Regions from separate parts of the Homo sapiens genome. Here region 1 is linked to region 2. Evidence: promoter capture Hi-C in human tissues and cell types (Jung and others, 2019). All regions are on one chromosome and are shown on one strand. Each heading gives the region's core, a stretch centred on a gene start or on the middle of the fragment in contact. The rest is flanking DNA. Distances are from core to core; before and after follow the strand shown. Region 1 has its middle 41 kb from the start of ETV4. Region 2 holds the start of MPP3 (MAGUK p55 scaffold protein 3).

The links. The method cuts DNA at HindIII sites, captures the fragments that hold promoters and counts their contacts. A contact is called where the count stands out against the background at its distance.
Region 1: a fragment that was not itself captured here is called in contact with the fragment with the promoter of MPP3 in region 2 in 1 of the 25 tissues and cell types used here (dorsolateral prefrontal cortex).

The regions. Positions count from the first base shown.
Region 1 is chr17:43,585,721-43,589,232 of GRCh38, reverse strand. No RefSeq gene overlaps it. Among named protein-coding and RNA genes, the nearest start is that of ETV4, 41 kb to the right of the region's middle. The HindIII fragment of the contact is 8,760 bases long and covers 1-3,512 here.
Region 2 is chr17:43,831,459-43,834,627 of GRCh38, reverse strand. It overlaps MPP3 (MAGUK p55 scaffold protein 3), which reads left to right and starts at 1,482. Exons shown (of 20, transcript NM_001932.6): 1 at 1,482-1,527; 2 at 1,809-1,867; 3 at 2,685-2,746; 4 at 2,951-3,069. The coding sequence starts at 2,722. LOC107984979 (a long non-coding RNA gene) reads right to left here and starts at 923. Exons shown (of 3, transcript XR_001753057.2): 1 at 639-923. RefSeq lists silencers at 1,353-1,452, 1,473-1,522. The HindIII fragment of the contact is 8,852 bases long and covers 1-2,853 here.

The DNA.
Region 1 (3,512 bases), core at 769-3,268, 250 kb after region 2:
TTATAGCCAAGGAACAGGGTGGGGTCAGTGGATGGAAAATCACTAAGGAGAAGCATTCAGGCCAGGGGATTCCTGCTGAAGGCAGGCCAGGGTGATGCGATATCAAGGGTGGAGGATGAGGAATTTCATCAGATAGGAAGGATAGGGGATTTTTGCTAAATGGGCCTGGCAGGATTCATGCTACAACTGGACTAAATTGCCCAAGGACACAGCCCAAGGTCAAGATGCTGTCAAAAAGAGGACCCAGAGGACCCTGACTCAGGTTTGATCAAGGAGAAAGTCTGTCAGGTCAGGGCATTGGTGAAACTGCCTTTGCATTGGGACTCCGTGCCGAGGGCACTGGAGAGTTGAGCAGGGAAACACCAAGGGGATATGTGCACTTTGTCCAGGTGACCCTGGTGGCACTGTGAAGGCTGGTGTGGAAAGGGGTGGGGCTGGAGGCAGGAGGACAGTCAGAAGAGAGCAGGGCTGACAAGCAGGGCAGTGGGGATGCAGAGGAGGGCAGGCTTTAGAAGACATTTAGAAGCCAGGCCGGTGCTTGTAATTGCAGCACTTTGGGAGGCCAAGGAAAGCAGATCACTTGAGTTCAGGAGTTTGAGGCCAGCCTGGGCAACATGGTGAAACCCCTTCTCTACAAAAAGTACAAAAATTAGCCAGGTGTGGTGGTGCACACCTGTAATCCTAACTACTTGGTGGGGCTGAGATGAGAGGATCACTTGAGCCTGGGAGATTGAGGGTGCAGTAAGCCATGTTTGCACCACTGCACCCCAGCCTGGGCAACAGTGTGAGAAACCCAATTCTGTCACGTTTGGTGGCTGGCTGATGACAGCTGTTCAACAAAGAAACACCAGTGGATGAAGGGAGACCTAATTTCCTAAAGAAGCCAAACCAAAACCTCATGCAACAATTCCTGAGGGACAGGAAGTATCTGCCCACAGCTGTTTTGTCCAGGCTGCTTGGGGCTGCAGTCAGCCAGGGAACCAAGGGAACTGAACCCCAGGGCCCAGTCTTTACTGGCAGCTGCCCATCTTAGAACCCACGGTACAATGGGGGAAGGCCCTAAGAGACAATTAAGGCATTTGCCTCCAACACAACTTAAGGGAGTGCCCCAAAACTCAGAAATCAAGATAGATAACTGATATGGTTTGGCTCTGTGTCCCCACCCAAATCTCATCTTGAATTGTAACTCCCACCATTCCCACGTGTCATGGGAGGAACCCAGTGGGAGGTGATTGAATTATGGGGGTAGATCTTCCTGCACTGTTCGTGTGATACTGAATGAGTCTCATGAGATCTGATGGTTTAAAAAAAAAAAAAGCAGAAGTTTGCCTGCACAAGCTCTCTCTTTTTGCCTGCTGTCATCTGTGTAAGATGTGACTTGCTCCTCCTTGCATTCTTCCATGATTGCGAGGCTTCCCCAGCCACGTGGAACTGTGAATTCTCTATTAAACCTCTTTCTTTTGTAATTTGCCCAGTCACAGGTATGTCTTTATCAGCAGCGTGAAAAGTGACAAATACAATAATACTTTTTTGTTGTTTTTGAGATGGAATCTCACTCTGTTCCCCAGGCTGGAGTGCAGTGGCATGATCTCGGCTCACTGCAACCTCTGCCTCCCAGGCTCAAGCGATTCTCCCACCTCAGCCTCCCTAGTAGCTGGAACTACAGGCATGCATCACCACCATGCCTGGCTAATTTTTGTATTTTTAGTAGAGACGGGATTTTACCATGTTGGCCAGGCTGGTCTCCAACTCCTGACCTCAGGTGATCCACCTGCCTCAGCCTCCCAAAGTGCTGGGATTACAGGTATGAGCCACTGTGCCCGGTCCAAGATAGATAATACTTTAACGCAATTTTTAAAAATCAAAATTGGCCAGGTGCATTGGCTCACGCCTGTAATCCCAGCACTTTGGGAGGCCAAGGCGGGTGGATCATGAGGTCAGGAGATCAAGACCATCCTGGCTAACACGGTGAAACCCTGTCTCTACTAAAAGTACAAAAAATTAGCCGGGCATGGTGGCGGGTGCCTGTAGTCCCAGCTACTAGGGAGGTTGAGGTAGGAGAATGGCGTGAACCCAGGAGGCGGAGCTTGCAATGAGCCAAGATCGCGCCACTGCACTCCAGCCTGGGCAACAGTGCGAGACTCCATCTCAAAATAAAAAAAAATCAAAATTAATGTAAAAATTGATGATGAACAAAATATTAAGATTTCAAATAAACACAAGATCCAACCCTTCCCTCAATATCGTGTCTCATTCACCTCACCCTAATCTCAGTCTTGGTTCCAATAAAACCTTGTTTTAAAAAACAGGCAGCCAGCTCACAGACTGTAGTTTACTGACAACAAAAATATTGCATTAGGCCAGGCACAGTGGCTCACATCTGTAATCCCAGCACTTTGGGAGGTTGAGTCAGGAAAAGTTTTTTTTTGAGATGGAGTCTCGCTCTGTTGCCCAGGCTGGAGTGCAATGGCGCAATCTCGGCTCACTGCAAGCTCCACCTCCTGGGTTTACGCCCTTCTCCTACCTCAGCCTCCCTAGTAGCTGGGACTACAGGTGCCTGCCACCATACCTGGCTAATTTTTTGTATTTTTAGTAGAGACGGGGTTTCACCATGTTAGCCAGGATGGTCTTAATCTCCTGACCTTGTGATCGGCCTGCCTCGGCCTCCCAAAGTGCTGGGATTACAGGCGTGAGCCACCATGCCTGGCCTAGGCAGGAAAATTTTTTGAGGCCGGGAGTTCAAGACCAGCCTGGGAAACATAGCAAGAACCTGTCTCTACAAAAAATAAATAAATTAGCTGGGCGTGGTGGCACATGCCTGTAGTTCCAGCTACTCAGGAGGCTGAGGCAGGAGGATTGCTTGAGCCCAGGAGTTCCAGGCTGCAGTGAGCCATAACTGTGCCACTGCATTCCAGCCTGAGGCACAGAACAAGACCCTGTCTCTGAAAGAAAAAAAAAATGCATTAAATTTTATTTATCTTGATTACTCGGTGCCCCTTACATTTTGGGCCTGTGGTGAGTTCCTCACTCCCCTCACTCTAAATCTGGGCCAGCCAGAGAAGGCCCCTTCCTGGAATACAAGCCCCAGTGAGAAGACCTACAGCCTGCAGAGAACAATGTGCCCACATTAATTCTGCTTGGGATCACAATCATTCCATGTGTGCTGAGGGCTCCACATTGGTCAGTAACCCCTAATGCCCCTGTCCCTTAGATTATCTGATGCCACCATACACCTAGGACGAGTTATTTAAGCTTTCTTTTTTTTTTTTTTTGAGACAGAGTCTCGCTCTGTCGCCTAGGCAGGAGCGCAGTGGTGCGATCTCGGCTCACTGCAAGCTCCGCCTCCTAGGTTCACGCCATTCTCCTGCCTCAGCCTCCCGAGCAGCTGGGACTACAGGTACCCACCACCACGCCCGACTAATGTTTTGTATTTTTTAGTAGAGATGGGGTTTCACCGTGTTAGCCAGGATGGTCTCGATCTCCTGACCTCGTGATCCACCCGCCTCGGCCTC
Region 2 (3,169 bases), core at 233-2,732:
GTTTAGGCCAATGATCTCTCTTAAATTGCGTTTTGAATATGGTGTGAGGTAGGGATTGGGTCCCTTCAGGCACATAAATATCTACTTGTTCCAACACCACTTCCTGGTGTTCTTGTCCAAAATCATTTGACCCATATCAGATGGATCAGATGGTTCTCATTATTTTTCCAACAGTAAACATTGCAGCTAAGAATGTGTCTCATGCAGTCTCTCTCCACTCAAAAAGTGTGGTCTGCAGACCAGTGGCGTCACATCACCTGGGAGCTTGTCAGAAATTCAGAATCTGGCACCACTCCAGCATTACACAACCCCCTAGTGAGTCTCAGGCACGTTACATTTTGAGGAGCAATAGTGTAGATATTTCTTGAGGAATGAGGATAATTTTTGAGGAATGAGGGGAAACATCATCATGACATTTGCTGCCTCTCACAGCCTCCCCATGCACTACAGCCTGTGGGGCCTGCCAACCCATTTTCCCTGGTTACTGTGCAGGGCTAGATTTACTTCCAGACTTAACCTCTGGGTCCACCTCTCCTGACATGTGCTGTGCCGTTCTTTGCTGCTGGGATTGAGGGAAGGGGGCCCACTCACTCACCCACTCCTCACCTTTTAATACCCACAACCACCTGCTCACTCACCCAGCAGTTCCTATGCTCTCCCCTATACACATTCTTTCACCAGGAACCTCAGTTTCCTCAATTGCAGAACCAAAATAAGAATGGTCTTGATATCAGGAACTACTGTGAAGGGAAGTGATCTGAGGAGTACCTGGGCATGGAGACAGCACAATATAAGTCAGTTATCGTCATGGCCATTTCAGAGCTCTTTTTCCAGTAAAGCCCCTGGATGCTGCTCGCCTCTGCTATGTAGCCTCACTCCCCTGCAGCCGGGCAGAATGGAGTCCCCCTCCTCTCCAGCCTGACTTCTCCTCCCCTGCTCCGCGTCCCCAGGGCAGCGTGCACCGATAAATCTTTCCCAGCGCGTTGCATTGTTACAGCGAGTTGCCCTCGCATCCGACCGGCCCCCCGCCCCACCTCTGGAGATCTTCAAACCCAGGATCTGTGCCTTGGTCGTCTTTGAAGCCCCGGCCCCTGGCACAGCGCCTGGCACCTGGAGGGCGCTCAATAAATGTTTGCAAAATCGAATTCTCTGTTGAGCAGGTGTCCACCCCTCCACTCGCGGAGGGTGGGTTGCGCGGGCGGAAGGGAAGTCTGGCTGTGTGCCAGGGTGCGGGGGGACACAGGCAGGGGACTCAGGGAGCGGGAGAGCGGGAGCGGGTACGACGCCGGCTAGCGGAGCCCGGCCCGGAGGGTGCGGCGGTGCCAGACGCGGAGGGCGGCCTCCGCTCCTCCCCCGCCTCCTCCCCGCGCCGCGCCTCCTCCCCGCGCCGCGCCTCCTCAGGCTCCGCCACCCCCGCCCGGCGCGGCAGCCGCAGGGAGGGGTCCGGGAAGGCGGAGCCAGCGGCGGCCCAGGCTCTGGGCACTCGCGCGGCTCCCGTTCGCGGAGCACACATCCCGGCGCGACGAGGTAGGAGGCCGCGAGGGGAACGGACGAGGGAGCTGGGCGCCGCGGCGGGAGGGGCGGGAGGCCGGGCCGAGACCCTCCTCCCGTGCTCCCGGACAGCCTCGCGGCCCACCGAGCCCACCGCGGGAGTCTCAACCCCGCCCCTCGGCCCCCGCCTCCCTCTTCCCGCGCCCGCCCCGCCGCGCGCCCCCCGCTCCCTGCTGCTCCGCGTCCTCCGGGACCGCCCTCCGAGGTCCCCCGGGGTCGCTGCTCCTGCGCCCAGTGCGCTCCTTGTTCTCCCACAGGTTCCTTCGGAGAGCGAGCGGGAGTCGGTGCTCGGCCTCCTGCGGGGAGCAGCCCGAGGGTGAGTCCGGCGTGGCGTGGCGGGGCGGGGCGGGGCGGAGGCTGGAGGGCCCGGGGCCGCTCTTACGCCTCTTAGTGGCACCGGGGCTCGGCGCTGCGGGCTGGCTCCATGTTTGCGGAATGAATCAGTCATGACTCTCCTTCTCCTCTTCCTAAGGAGGACTTTTTGAGGTCCACGTGCTGCAGAGCACCTTTGGAGGGCCTCATGAGATAGGGGTCCCCCCTCCTGCATAGTGGAAGCCCGACTCCCATTTCCCCCCCTCCTCTCTGCACTCCAGTCTGGAGGCTCCCTTTGGGTTGGGTCTTGGGGGGTCGGGGACAGGGGGCTTGTAGGCCCAGCCAGGTAGTTGTGGAAGGTGTGTCCCAGCAGGAGACTTGAGCCAGGGCTCTTAGAAGGTTGCAGTGGAGGGGGCGCGCTGCGGAGGACAGCTGACACTGTCAGGCAGGGTCACTTGGCACCTCCAAGGCCAGCCTGGAAGAGCCTGCTTGAATATGGATTTTGACCCACAGCTTACTGAAAGCTTCCACGCCGCTGTTTCTTCATCAATAAAATGGGAACATTCGCAGTCATTTCTCAGGACTTTGTGCAGACAAAAAGTTTATCATAGAAATCACCCCACACAATGCTTGGCACATCGAGGACACTCAGCACATCTTAGCTTTATTTCCTTCCTCTCTGAAAAAAGTAAGCAGAGTTATTTGTTCCCATCCTCTCTGTCCACAGCCTGGTCTCAGAGAACACAGTAGATGTGTAGTCAGTTTGTTCAATAAATATGCTTGATGGAGCTTCAATACCCACCTCCACCCCCTTCTCCCAGAATCTGCAGGGAGAGGTCGGGAGGTGACAACGCCAGCATGCCAGTGCTATCGGAGGACTCTGGTAAGTACCTCCCCCCGGCTGGACCTGCCACAGTCCTGAAGACAAGAGCCTGCCTGGCAGCCTCCAGGCCCTGGCAGTGAGAGCCTGGGGAGAGAATGTCCTCACGGCAGGACTGAAGTGCTGTTTGAGGCCCCACTCGGGCTCCTCGGGGGCAGGGAGCACCCACTGCGTTTGCTATCCTTTGTTTTTCTCACCTCTCCCCAGGTTTGCATGAAACCCTGGCCCTGCTGACCTCCCAGCTCAGACCTGACTCCAACCACAAGGAGGAGATGGGCTTCCTGAGGGATGTTTTCAGTGAAAAAAGCCTCAGTTACTTAATGAAGGTGAAGTCCCACGTCATCCTGCGTGGAAGGGTGTCTAGAGGTCTTTCTAGCTGTCTGTGGCCGTCTGAGGTCATCCTAGTCATCTCCCTGCCCCAGGAAG